Linked DNA regions of Homo sapiens: region 2 is linked to region 1. The links are contacts of gene promoters, found by promoter capture Hi-C in human tissues and cell types (Jung and others, 2019). All regions are on one chromosome and are shown on one strand. Each heading gives the region's core, a stretch centred on a gene start or on the middle of the fragment in contact. The rest is flanking DNA. Distances are from core to core; before and after follow the strand shown. Region 1 holds the start of SYT15 (synaptotagmin 15). Region 2 has its middle 8.8 kb from the start of NPY4R.

Region 1 (6,824 bases), core at 2,256-4,755:
TCGGGCCCCGCGCTGGCCTCTGACAGCACAGGAAGCTTCTGCATTCACGCTGAGGCCTGTCTTTTGCCTTCCTTAGATAAACTTGCCAGAAACCCCATAGTGCTTCAGGCCTTTGGGATAATTCCCCTGAGCCCCATAGGCCAGGGCCTGGCATTCAGTAGTTGCTCTAAAATTGTGTTTTCACCCACTCTCTTCCAGGTAGTCAGGACAGGGAAGCCCAGGCTTCTGGTCACCACTCACCAAATCTCTCCCCTGCCCCTCTATCAGGGATCAGCTCCTATAGGCCTTAACCTAGCAGACTAGGTAAAGCAGAGCTGGTGGCATCAAGGGTCCCGGGGGCTGCAGAGCCCTGGCTGGTACAGGAGGCTGGGCTCTCCTGTAGGTCTGCACCTTCCCAGCAACGCGGAGGGCACCAGACCCTGCCTGCTCCAGAGGCTGTACCTGAAAGATGAAGTGCTCGTCAAACTGCGGGTTGGAGGTTTTGCGTTTGGTCTTGGATTGGAGGAAGCGCCGCTCATCGGGCAGCAGGTAGAGCTTCACCAGGGGGCTGCAGGTCTCCGAGGGGGCTTGCAGGTGCTGTGCCTTGATCAAGCCCACCAGCAGCCGCTCAGCCTCCTGCTCATATTCCACCGAGAACCACAGCCGCCCCAGGCAGCCGTCGGGGAAGTCGGTCTCACTTTTGTCCTCCGGGAACTTGTACAGCTCTGGGTTGATGGCCCCCACCATACATGCATCTCCTATGACAGAGGGTGGGAGGGCTGGCAGGCCAGAGGAAGGCAGGGGCATGGGAGACAGTGGCAAGCTCTGGGCACCCATCCCCATCCTGGCCCATCCGTCTCTGCTGAGCCTCAGCTAGCCTGACCACATCTGCCCCACTCTCCTCACCAGGCTAAACACATCCCCTCTCTCTGGTGCAGCTCCTCCAAGAAGCCTTCTCACCATGAAGGCATTGCATGGCCAGGCTGGGGATCCAGCAGAGTCCTGCCCCCTGGGATTGGCCCCCATCCTTGGAGGTCAGGACCTGTTTCAAGGACACAGTGCCCATCACCTGGCCTAGCCCCCTTCCATGGCGTCTAGGGAATGACTCAGCGATAAAACATTGCCTTTCTTCTTCCTCTTCAAATTAGAAGGGCCAAGGTGATTATTGGGTGGTTCCTGTGATGGTCTCTTGGTAGATCTTCAGGGCAAAGAGGTGGCAGAAAGCTGTGTTTGCAGCCCCTACCATTCTGTCCTCTTGGTCAACCAACCCATCATCCTAGAGTGGGACCCAGCACAAGTTCTGTACATGGCGTGCCTGGGTTCCAATTCCAATCTGTTGCTTACAGCCTCAGTTAAGACTATGTAAAATGGGGTGATAATTCCTCCCCCTCAGAGTCATGGTGAGGTCTCACTCCAAATCAGCACCCAAGGCCATATCTTACCCTCATGGGGTGCAGCAAGCACTTCATAAATGAAAGCACCCAGAAAGAGTGGTCCCTGGGTGGTCCCTGGCATCCCTGGCTGGTTCAGGTTGTGTTCCGGAGCCAAGCTGGTGAAAGCAGATGGGGCCACCCGAGCAGACCCTGACCTCTGGGCAGCCCTGGCAAGGACACTCACCAAGGCCGCCGCTGGAGGTGTGAGGCAGCAGCTCTGATGCCGGGCAGGGGTCCCATGGGGCATCGGCCCACTCTCCACTGTGCAGGGGCACCCAATCTCGGCCTTGAAGGGTTGGGGGCACCACGAATGGCACAGCTGGTGGCCTGTCCAGAGTCAGGGAGACAACATGTAGGTGGCAAGTCAATGGTGTGGTCTCAGAGCGCTCAGCCAGGACGGTTGAGCACCAGGGGCTGGAGGAAGAAAAGCCATCGGGAGCCAGGAGGAGGCCAGGGCACCATTTTCTGGGCCCATACCAGGCAACACACACACACACACACGCACACACACACACACACACACACACACACACACACACAGCAGTGGGATTTGAAGAAGGAACACAGCACCTGACAGTGTCAGCCAGTCTGGGTTTGGATTCCTGTTCTGCCACTTACTAATTGTGTTCTCTGGACCTGTTGCTTATGTGCACTGAGCCTCAGATTCCTCACCTGGAACATGGGTTTCATAACACCTGCCTAATAGCTGATGTGAGGTTTCTGGGGTTTCTTTGTGATAGCTCCCAGCACCGAAGCAGCATAGAAGAGGCACCCCCATAAACAGAACTTTCCTTTTCGACCCCACCCTGAGGGAAATTCCAGGGGCGCACTTGGCCCCACATCCTGCCTCACCTGCTCAGTTGGGTCCTAGCATGCGGCTGGCAGGGCCTGTCCCGCTGCCCACTGGAGGCAGCTGTGGTGGCCATGGCTGGTGTCCCAGGCAGCTCCTCATAGGTGAGGGTGGCACAGAACCTTCTCCACAGACAGCAGCTTGCCCCGATCAACAGCAGCAGCAGCAGCCCCCCGATGGTGCCCCCAATCACCAGGGCCAGCTGCTCTGGGGGCAGAGACCACCAGTACTATGATGCCTGCCTGGGAAAGCCACTCTCCCTCACAGCCCTGGCCTGCTGGGGCAGAACTAGGGCAGCAACCCTGCCTCTGGGTTTGATCTCAGGAGTGATAGGAGCAGGCCTGCTGGGGATGGGTTCCGGGAGGGATGCTGCTGGCTAGGTTCCGCCAGCTCTCAGAGGAGAAGCCGTTTACCCCAGGGTCTGAGAGCCCTGGGCAGAACCTTCTAGTTTTCCTTGGAAAACAGCTGGCCCTGCCCTTGGGATTCTGGCTTAAAGAAGCCATTTCCTTGCGCTTCTGAGTAGAAATCAAACCTGCCCTCACCAGAACCTCCATATCCCCTGGGCTCCTGTTGAGGCCAGGAGGGGAGCTGGGGTGTGGACGCAGTCAGTTAAGGAAAGCCCTGAAAGGTACCTTCCCCCTGGTCTGCAATCAAACCTCTACCCTCTGGGGCCCTGGAACCTGCTGCAAGGCTGGACTCTTCTCTAACACCCGCTCCCTCCCCTAGCCCTCTATCAAGGTGAGCACGCGCTTAGGGGAGTTGGTGCGACGCGGTGGACGAGGTGGGGAGGAAAAGGGGGCAAGACCCCGTTGCTGCTGGCCCTCACACGTCCGCATTTGCGGGACCTAGGAGGCTTCGCCCCGGGGGTGCTCAGACGCTGGGTTCCAACCGCTGGCCACCTGGGGCGGGCCAAAAAGGTGCCTCCCTTAGGGTGACGTGCGGCCGCGGGGCATTCAGGTCTCAGGGATCTGCACTGGGTGGGGTGGTGAGAAGGCCGGACCCCCCACACCTCCTAAGCCGCAACTGACCGCGAAGAGCGGGCCTCAGCGTCTACTCCATCCCAGTGCCCCTCCAAGAGCGCGCCGAGGCCGGGCAGGGCAGGCGCTGCACCCCAGCGGGGGCGGCGGGGCGGAGGCAAGTGCTGGAAGGGTCGCAGAGGGGCCGGGGCTGGGCTGGGGAGGCGAGGCTCGCTTACCCGCCATGGGGCTGCTCCCGCAGGCTGGTCTCGCCGGTCTGGGCGGCTGGGGCTGGGCTGCCAGGCCGTCTCTTAAAGCGCCGCGGGGCGCCGTCGGGCGAGCACAGGGGCGGTCCGTGGTGCTGCTGGTGCCCAGCTGCGGCGCGGGGAGCCGCGCAGTGCACGGCAGGGGCAGGGACCCAGCGCCCCGAGGCCGCAGTCCCGCCCCAGCCCGTCCCTGGCCCAGGCCCAGGCCCGGCGGTGGAGGGGCGCAGAGCCGACCGTGAGCTCCCGGAAACCGCAGGGCTCCAGCCAGGGCGGGTCCCGGGCGCCAGGGGCGCCAGGGGCTCCCTGCGGCTTGGGGCAGGGTGGGGTGAGAGTACCACCCCCATCCCGGAGAGCAGGGCTACAGCCTTCACCGCCGCGTCTGACACAGGGCTCCGCACCCGACCCCTCACACCTGGTGGCCAGGACTGAGCCCCCGCCCTCCCAGATCCTCCTCAAGCCGAGGCCCCTCCAGCCGCAGCTCCGACCCCGGCTCGGGGGAGCCTTCCCGGATCCCGGGGTGGAGTCTCCGCGCGGGTCCCCGGCCCCAGCGCTGCCTGCCTGATGGCCTTGGGCAGGGATGCGGCGCTCGCGCACCCGTTCGCTCTCAGCGGACAAACCGGTCGAGAGCGCAATTCTGGAGCGGGTTCCAGAAGCTCCTGGGTTCCAATTCAGGCTCCTCACTCGCCAGCCCTGCGATTTGGGACAACTTAACGTTCGTAAGCTGGGTTCAGTCTTCTCAATTGGGTTAATGTCCGTGAGGGGCTCTCGTAAGGGCGGCTGGCCTGCCGGTAACTTAAGAAGCATGTAAAGAGCACTTAGAGCGGAGGAGCGGCGCGGCCCAGCCCCTGTTACGGTGGTTATCGGATGGAGGCCAGCGTCGCCTGGGTCCCCTCTGTACACCCAGCGCCTATTATTATGGTGATTATTAGAACGCAGGGCCCGTGCCCACTAGTCCAGGCTGGCGAACGCGCCTTGCGGGAAAGGCGGGAGTAAGGTCGCTGCGTGTCCTCTCTGGTCACACCTCGGCGCGCCCTGGTCGCGCCCCTATGGTTCCCCCGCCGAGGCCTCGAGGCGTCTGAGTGGGGAGCGAAAGGAATGTGTGTATCTGTGGTGCAGGGGAGTGTGTGTGTGTGGGGGGGGGGAGGGGGTGGTTGTGGGGGAGTGCGTGTTTTGGGGGGATGGACCTTCTCGTTTTACAGCCTTGAAGGTTATGTCCAGAGTCATAGCCTGGGTCCCACACCCCCGCGTCACCTGTGCCTGTCCTAGGGGGCAGTCAGTGTGCGTGAGGCTCCACCCTGCCTGGGCTTTGGCTCACCTAAGGCGAGGAGGGTGGTGAACTGGGGTGCCCCACTGGGCCGGGTCTGGGAGCCCTCAGCGCCAGGGTGCAGAGGCCGCAGCCACTCCCCTTCTAGGGTCTGGGCGGTGGGGGCATGAGAAGGCGGAGACCCAGGCCACTTCACCCAGTAACTGTCCTCAGCTGTGCGCTTAACTGGCGAGATCTCCGCTCTACTTGGAGACAGTCTGGGGTGTCTGGAGAATCCTCCCCCACTTCTGCTTACCCCAGGTCGCTGTGGGAGCAGGTGTCTCAGGAAATGGGGCCTGGGTCCCACCCAAGGCCTCGGGTCTGAGTTAGATGTCTGTATGTTTGTTGTTGCCCCTGCAACAAAGTACCACAGATTGAGTAGTTTAAGCCACATGCATGTTATCTCACAGTTCGGGGGGTCGGGAATCTAAACTGGGTTGGCAGGGCCTGTGCCTTCTGGAGGCAAGGGAGCTGTTTCCCAGCGTTTCCAGCTCCTAGAGGCTGCTAGCTAGTGGCCCTTTCCTTTGTCTTCAAAGCCGGCAGCACAGCCTTTTCTAACCTCTCCCACTCCAGGTCATTTCACATCAACTCTTTCTGCCTCCCTCTTGTAAGTGTGATACCCTACCTTGTTTTAACCTGAATTGACTGTCCCTTAGCTGAGAGAGCCAGACACACTCCATTTTGGCTCCTTCACTTGCAGCCCCTTACCCACCCCCCTTCCTCAAGGACTTAACTTGTGCAAGCTGACTCCCAGCACATCAAAGAATGCAATTAATGGATAAGATACTGTGGCAAGCTATATCCGCAGTTCCCAGGAATTTGCCCAGTTGATAGTACCCTAAGCCCCCACATTTGTGTCCGGTTGATGGTACCCAAAGCCCCCGCATCTATCGCCTTGTGATGGATTTAAAACCCCTGCACCTGGAACTGTTTGTTTTCCTGTAACCATTTGTCTTTTAACTTTTTGCCTGTTTTGCTTCTGTAAGAGTGCTTCAGCTAGGCTCCTCCTCCCCTTTCTAAACCAAAGTATAAAAGAAAATCTAGCCCTTTCTTCAGGGCCGAGAGAATTTTGAGCACTAGCCGTCTCTCGGTTGCCGGCTAATAAAGGACTTCTGAATTCATCTCAGAGTGTGGCGTTTCTCTATAAGAGGCTCATCAGATAATCCAGGATAACCACCACCCCCATCTCAAGATCATTAACTTAATCACACCTGCAAAGCCCCTTTTGCTATGTAGTCACGGGGTTGGGGATGAGGACTTGATATCTCTAGGACCATTGTGTGGACCATGTTGTCCATGCAGTACCCTGGGAGGGGTGGCTTACATTTCCCCTTCCTCTGTCTAGAGTTCAGTGTGCCTCAACACTGGACTCAGGCAGCTAGCAAGGCTCAGGGGACCCCTACATGGAACCCGTCAGCTATCTTGACCCCTTCCCCCAGCTGCCATGCACCCCCACCTGACCACCCCAATGGGGCATGGCATCCACACCAGCTGCCTCCATGATTGCGCCCGAGCTGTACTCAGGCTGTTCTGGGGGTGGAGTTGGGTAGTGGGATGTTTTTTGAAAAGGGAATCCCTTCTGGCACTTCCTGAGTGCCAGGCCCAGAGCTGCCATCTCTCGACCCCCATGCTGTGCTTTTCCAAAGTCCCCATCTTTCTCTGTGTCACCAAGTCCTGACAGCTGTTCCTCCTCTGTCCATCTCTATCATGGCAAAAAACCTTGCCCAGCCCTCCATCACCTCTCATCTGGAGCTCTGCATGGGCCTCCTCTCAGCTCTTCAGATTCCATGCTGCACCCACTCCCCTTCCCAGCTGTTGTCTTCCAGGCTCCCCTCCCATTCTCATCCCCCCCACCACCCATCTCTATGCAGTGCTTGTGCCCAGACTGATGCAGCTACTTCCACGGCTCTGCGTATGCACTGGGCTCTCCCACCATGCTGCTCTCTCCCTGTCTGAAATACTCAATGCCCCTCCCACCCTCCTTCTCCACTGCTCATGTTTCAAGATGAACCCCCAGCATCTTGCCTTCTGTGAAAC
Region 2 (6,824 bases), core at 1,433-3,932, 120 kb after region 1:
CTCCCAGGACCTCATTTGATACAGTAGCTGGACCGAGACTCTGTGGCTCTCCCCACTGTTGACCCACTACAGAGGCCTCCAGAACTCAAGGCTATGGCTGCAGCCTCCTTCACTCTGTGCTCTGACCACTGAGCTGACTTGCCCCAGATAATGTGCCACGTATCTTTCAAAGCTTCCTCAGGGTATTGGGCATCCCAGTGGCCTTAAGTAGGATCAGGGGCAGGGAGTCCTGGGAGTCTAACTTCATGGGGCACTGGCTGAAAAAAGCAGGGGTCCCCTTCCTCCAGCCATCCAGGGAAAAAGGAGAAAGGGCTCCAATGAGTGTGAATATCTTACCTTGGGGGTTATGGCCTAGTCCTCTGGATGCTGAACCAGGCCCAAGGCTTCATCTATGTGTGGACCAGACAGCCTGTCCTTGCAGGGAAAGAAATGTCAAGACTGCTCCTGGGCTGCATTGGATGGGATGTCTCCGCATGGTTCTGTTGGCTCAGACTGACCCTCCAGCAGAGTGGACAGTGGCTGGCCTACTATAGCCTCCCAGGGCAGGGTATTCATGTGCTGGAGCCCTGGAAGAGCCTCATCATAAGCCAGCATAGGTTCTGCAAAGGGGGTCTGGCATAGGGCTCTCACCCCTGACCAAGAACCGGTGGAACTGACGCCCAAGACAAGTGCTCTTTGAGCCAGCAGCTCCCCTCCTGGAGCTGTTTGTCTTATCGCTTCTTTTGGTCACATCTCCCATTCAGTTCCTTTGTTCATTTTTGTGTTGGATTTTGGGCAGATTTCTTGAGCCACTCTCTTGGACACAGCTTGTGCTTGTCCTGTGGTGCCATCTGCTGCTGGCTGCTCCAGGTGACCACCTGCCAGCGAAGCCCAGGCTCCGGGACCCATCTATTTTGTGAAAAGCCCACATGCACAAAGCAACCCCCAAATGCCAAAGGAGCCAAGAGACCAAAGAAGGAAGCAGACAAATCCAGTTTGTTGGTATTGAGTGATTTATTGAGGGAACTTTTAAGCAGGCGGGTGGTCTCGGGTGGCCACAAGACAGGCAGATCTCTGCACTGTTACTCTCGGACCCAAGGCTTATATACCAAGGGAAAAGGATATACATGCTCCAGCAAGACAGTGAAAGGTAGTGTGCCAGAGCAGGCAAGAACGCCATGTGCATCATAGCCCAGAATTTGCATGATAACATCAAGCTTGCTTTGATCTAAAAGCAGGAGTACATATTCTTACACTCGGGACAGTAAATAAAGTAGGAGTCAGGAGGCATTCATGGGACTGGGGCTAATCAGAAGTCAACATGGGAAAATTAGCATCCAAGATGGAGTCACTTTTGTCTTCCCATCACCCCAGAAAGATGTCATTGTTCAAGCTTCCCAAGGAATTGGGGGCCTCAGGCCCCCCTGGATCCCACGCAAGTGCCTGGAGTTGCTTCTCATTATTAGTCTCGATGGTGCCAAGATGCTGGGGACAAAGATGATTTCAGGTGCAGACATGCTTGAGGACGGAGGGCCAGGCTAGGCCTCTGGGGAAAGTGTTTGGTGCTAAGAATTGGGGTAGTGGGTAGAAGCCTCGTTGAGTGTGTTCTGTGCCCCAGCATCACCTGGAGCTTGTAGATATTCAGAGTCCTTGTTGCCAGCCCAGCTCGATTGAATCCAAATCCATGTTTTATCAGGATCCCAGGTTAATTGTGTGCACATTAAAGTTTGAGAAGCTCTGCTCTAAGAAACAGGTTGCCCTGGAGCCTAGAGACACTGGGTAAGAACCTGTAGACACCCATCCTAGTTCTGGGAACGTCTCTAAAATTGTTATTGCTGAAAAGGTGCATTCAGTTTTGGTTGTCTGTCTCATCTCTGGCTGCATGTGGTCATATTTTTTGTGAGGCTTTTTCATTCTTTTGATAAATATTTGCCATGTGCATAGTTTGCATAGATATGTTCTTAGTGAACATGGCTTTTTGTATTCTGCTCTATTTCACTTAAAACTGTATCATCAACAGTTTTTCATCTTGCTGGATATCTTTTTTTTTTTTTTTTTTTGAGAAGGAGTTTCACTCATGCTGCCCAGGCTGGAGTGCAATGGCACGATCTTGGCTCACTGCAGCTTCTGCCTCCTGGATTCAAGCAATTCTCCTGCCTCAGCCTCCTGTGTAACTGGGATTACAGGTGCCTGCCACCACACCCAGCTATTTTTTTTTTTTTTTTGTATTTTTAGTAGAGATGGGGTTTCACTATGTTGGCCAGGCTGGTCTCGAACTCCTGACCTCAGGTGATCCGCTCTGCTCTGACTTCCAAAGTGCTGGGATTACAGGCATGAGCCACCGTGCCCAGCCTAGATATCATTTTTGATGGCCGCTTACAAGTGTACGAACTGTCCCAGTGAAAGCCAGTACCCCTCAGTATCTCTAGCTCCTGGGGGTGGTGGGGGGGGTGGGAGGGCATCTCTAGCCAGCAAGTGGACCCTCTGCCACCCATTGTGGGAGGTACCCACCTTACAGAGGAGGATCATGGCTGGAATTGGAGACTCATACCACAAAGACTGACTGGGAACCCTTGGAAGATGCAAAACTTTATCACGTCCTGGCTGTGAGTGCTAAAACCCTGCCTAATGCTAGCCTTTCTTTTTTAAAGTATTGATGTGGCCTTTTTTTTTCCATTATAAAAGTAATCATATTCATTCTGAAAGATATACAATATATACAAAAATAAAATTGAAAAAAGGAAATTATCAGGAGTTCCACCACTCAGACATAATCACTGTTTACATTTTGGGGAGTCATTTTAAAAGTTTTCATATGCATAGTCATATACATATGTCTGTTTTTTAAAAAAATGGTTGAGAGCATAGTGTGTCCACATGGGAACTTATATATCATATTTAAGGATTGTTTTATATCTTTTTTGTTTAACCTGATATAAATTTTTATTCACTTGTTTATTCATTAAATATGTCAGACACTATGTTAGCTGTGGGGATACAGTGGTTGTAATCAGACATTGTCCCTGTTCTATGGAACTTAGAGTCCATTGATAGATATATCCTATGTCCTTAATATCATCTGTTGTGGCATTCTGAGCTGTCTCTAGACCTGTTGCATAGAGTTTTATGATGAACGTCTATGCAAAGAACCTTTTCTATATTTGGAATTATTTCCTTAGGAGAGATTTCCAGAAGTGGAATTAACAAAGGGCATGGACAGTTTTCAAGGCTCTTGACGTGTGCTGCAAAGTTGATTTCCAAAAAAGGTCTGGAACAATTTCAGGGCACTCCCTGAAGAGTGCCCATTTCACCGTACCCTGGCCACTGTTGGTGATTTACCATTAACCAAAAGACTTTGACCTGTATCGCCCAGACTGGAGGGTGTCCCAGCTCCTGCCTCCAGGTCCAGCAAACACTGTGGGCACTGACCATTCAAGGCTAGCCTGACCCTGTCCCTCTGTGAAACCTTTGGGGGTTCCACAAAGCCTTTAGGGTTGCAGGACCACATAACTTATCCAAACAGGGATACTTGAGCATGAAAGGGGCCACCATGAATAATCACCCTGGGACAACAGGCAAAACTACCCTGGGAAATGGGAACATGAGATCATCCTACTATAGATAAATCTGATCCCTTTAACATAGCTTGAATTCAACCCTCTCCACCATCTGGCCCCAACTTACTTTTTCAGTCTCTTTGCATCCTGACATATCACACGATCCAGTCACAGTCGGCCTGCAATTACCAACCATGCCTTGGGTGTCACTGTCTCTGTACATCTGCTCCCGCCATTCCCTCCTCCTGCCTCCAGCCACCCCAACCCCCGCCAGTCTGCAATGCGCCCCCTCGCCCATCTGTGTAGGTCCAAATCCCACCCTTGCTTCAAAACACAAATTAAATGGTACCATTCAATACTGCTTTCATTCAACAAACATGTACTGACTGCTTACGATGTGTCAGGCACATAGAGTACAAGACCGAAAACATCCCACCTCCTGTGGAACTTTAATTTGTGTGTGCAACTGTGACAACTGGTCCTAAAGATGAACACAAAATGATGTGCCAGAGAGTCTGCCCTGTTATGGTTTTGAATAGACACACCCACCACCCCACAAGGTTATGAGCTCTTTGAGGGTAAAATCCAAGAGGCTCATCCTCCACCCTTGCAAAACCTCTGACACACCCTTGGATAGAGCAGGCACTTAAGCATTTGCCAAGTGAAGAATTAATATGAAAGAAGCTTACCTATTCACTCCGCAAGAGTTTTCTAATAACCAGTTCTGGGTTCTCCATGAATCTGAGATCAAAGGGGAGCCTAAATTTCCACATACCTTAGAGAAACACCCCCAGGTCCTACCACTGTGACTCTCTGTCCACCCTGATACTGGAAGAAACTGAAGTCACCGGACTCACTGATTGCTGCTTCTTGTGAGGTTAAGTGACTCATCCAAGGTCACACAGCTAGATAGTGACTGAGCCACTGGAGGGGTCAGGAGGTGATACAGGAAAGACTCAGAATGCATGAGTGGATAAGTCACCAAAGGAGTCACTGGAGTGGAGGGGCCTGGAGGGGAAGGTGACCCTGAGTGCTGGAATGGCCAGAGAAGAACAAACAAGCTAACAGCCCCAAAGACCTCCATTGTCCCCAGATCCCATTCACTGTCATCTCCTGAAGAACATCACTCTCACACCATCAGTGTTCTCTGCTCCTTTTTGCACAAAACTCCTCCAGAGACTTGTCTAGCCTCTTTCTCTCTCTCTCTTTTTTTTTTTTGTTCTTTTAGAGACAGGGTCTTGCTCTGTCACCCAGGCTGGAATGCAGTGGCATGAACATAGCTCACTGCAACTCGAACTCCTGGGCTCAAGTGATCATCTCACCTCAGCCTCTTGAATAGCTAGCACCACAGGTGCATACCACCATGTCCAGCTAATTAAAAAATTAAATCTTTTTTTTTCTTTTTTTGATAGAGACTGGGTCTCCCTATGTTGTCCAGGCTGATTTTCCTTTTTTTTTTCCTTTTTTGTAGAGATGAGGTCTCTCTCTGTTGCCCAGGCTGGTCTTGAACTCCTGGCCTCAAGTGATCCTTCTGTCTCGGCCTCCCAAAGTGCTGGGATTGGCATGGGATACTGTGCCTGGCCCCCTGTCTAATCCTGAAGCTTCCACTTCCTCTCCTCTTATGTGCTCACCAGTCCATTCATATAGCTCTTGCCATGTTGCCAAATCCTGTGGCCAGTTCTCAGTCTTGTCTGATATGGTCGTCAGCTGTATTGGGCAGTTGGTCACTCCCTTCTCCTTGAGACTCCTGCATGTGGCTTTTTCAGGGCATAATGGTCATGGTTCTCCCTGCCTCATTGGGCTCTTCTTCCCCATCTCTTTTCTTGGACTCTTGTTGCCCTGATTTTGGGACACTGGAGCATCCCCAAGGAGCCCTGGAGGTCCTCTCATTCCCCTGGTGAGCTCACCCAGTTTTCTGGTGCTAAATGCCACAAATACTCTAATGTTCCCCAGTGTATCTCCAGTCTGAACTTCTCCCTGACCTCCAGATTTGGGTGTCCAGGCATGCTTTGTGTTTCCTAGACACCAGTCAGCATCTCAAGCTTGGCACATTTAAAAGCAAACTCCAGATTTGTCCCTGCTACCTCCTTCCTCAGTGTCCTCCTTTTCAGAAAAGGGCAAGTCCTGCTTTTCATTTGCTTGGGCCACAGTCTTTGGGATCACCTCCTATTCACAACCCTCATCCAATCTATCGGTGAGTTCTGTAAGCTGTGCCTTCAAAATGTTCTCAGAATGACCACTTCTCACTGCCTCCAGGCTCTGCCTTCAGGTTCAAGCCACTGTCCTCCCTACTGAGATCATGGCAGAGGCCTCCTTTCTGGCCTCATTCAGCCAGAGTGATCCACTGAAACTAGTCAGGTGCCTCTACAACTTTGTTCAACCCTCCAGTGGCTTTCCATCATATTCAGGGCAAATTTCACAGTCACAGTCTCCACCTGTGTCTGCAGATCATCCACCCCTCTCTGGCCTCACTTCCCACTACCCTTCCCCTCACCCACTCCTCTTCAGCAGTGCTTGCTTCTCTGCTATCTTTTGAACAGGCTAAGACCTTTCCCGCCTCAGGCCTTTCTACTTCCTACTCTTGCTGCTTGGAATGCCACCCCTTGATATCAACTTTCTCCCTTGCTCCCTTCACCTTAAGTGAACCTTTATTAGAAGATTAATTTCCTGGCTGGGCATGGTGGTTTGTGCCTGTAATCCCAGCACTTCGGGAGGCCAAAGCAGGCAGATCACTTGAGCCCAGGAATTTGAGACCAGTCTAGACAACATAGTGAAACCCCATCTCTCTCTACAAAAATTACAAAAATCAGCTGGGCATGGTGGCACAAGCCTGTATTCTGAGCTACTTGGGAGGCTGAGGTGGGAGGATTGACTAAGCACAGAAGGTCAAGGCTGCAGTGAGCCATGATCACACCGTTGCACACCAGCCTGGGCAACAGAGTGAAAGCCTGTCTCAAAAAACAGAAGACTAATTTTTTAACCATCCTGTAAAAATATAACCATCCTCCCTCTCTCTTCCCTTTTCTGCCCAGTTTCTGCCACAGGACTTAGCACATTGGCTGGTTCTTTGTTGAGGGTCTCCACTCCCTCATTAGAACATGAACCCCATGGAAGTAGGCACTGTAGATGTTTTATTTACTGTCCAGCCCTCAGCAAGAACAGGCTGTTCACGAGAGGTGCAGAAGAAATATCCATAGTACAAGTGAATTTCCAACTGTTATAGTTCATCAGTGGAGAGCTGCACTTCAGCCTCTTATTTGTGGAGAGCGGGCATCTGGTTTTGTAGCT

The links. The method cuts DNA at HindIII sites, captures the fragments that hold promoters and counts their contacts. A contact is called where the count stands out against the background at its distance.
Region 2: a contact is called between a fragment that was not itself captured here and the fragment with the promoter of SYT15 in region 1, in 5 of the 25 tissues and cell types used here (H1 embryonic stem cells, IMR-90 fibroblasts, aorta and 2 more).

The regions. Positions count from the first base shown.
Region 1 is chr10:46,575,809-46,582,632 of GRCh38, reverse strand. SYT15 (synaptotagmin 15) reads right to left here and starts at 3,505. Exons shown (of 8, transcript NM_031912.5): 1 at 3,458-3,505; 2 at 2,265-2,469; 3 at 1,597-1,739; 4 at 442-737. The coding sequence starts at 3,464. It overlaps SYT15-AS1 (SYT15 antisense RNA 1), which reads left to right. Exons shown (of 2, transcript NR_155739.1): 2 at 1-465. RefSeq lists enhancers at 1,883-2,762, 2,763-3,640. The HindIII fragment of the contact is 17,987 bases long and covers 1-6,824 here.
Region 2 is chr10:46,453,790-46,460,613 of GRCh38, reverse strand. No RefSeq gene overlaps it. Among named protein-coding and RNA genes, the nearest start is that of NPY4R, 8.8 kb to the left of the region's middle. RefSeq lists a silencer at 472-1,072. The HindIII fragment of the contact is 3,996 bases long and covers 685-4,680 here.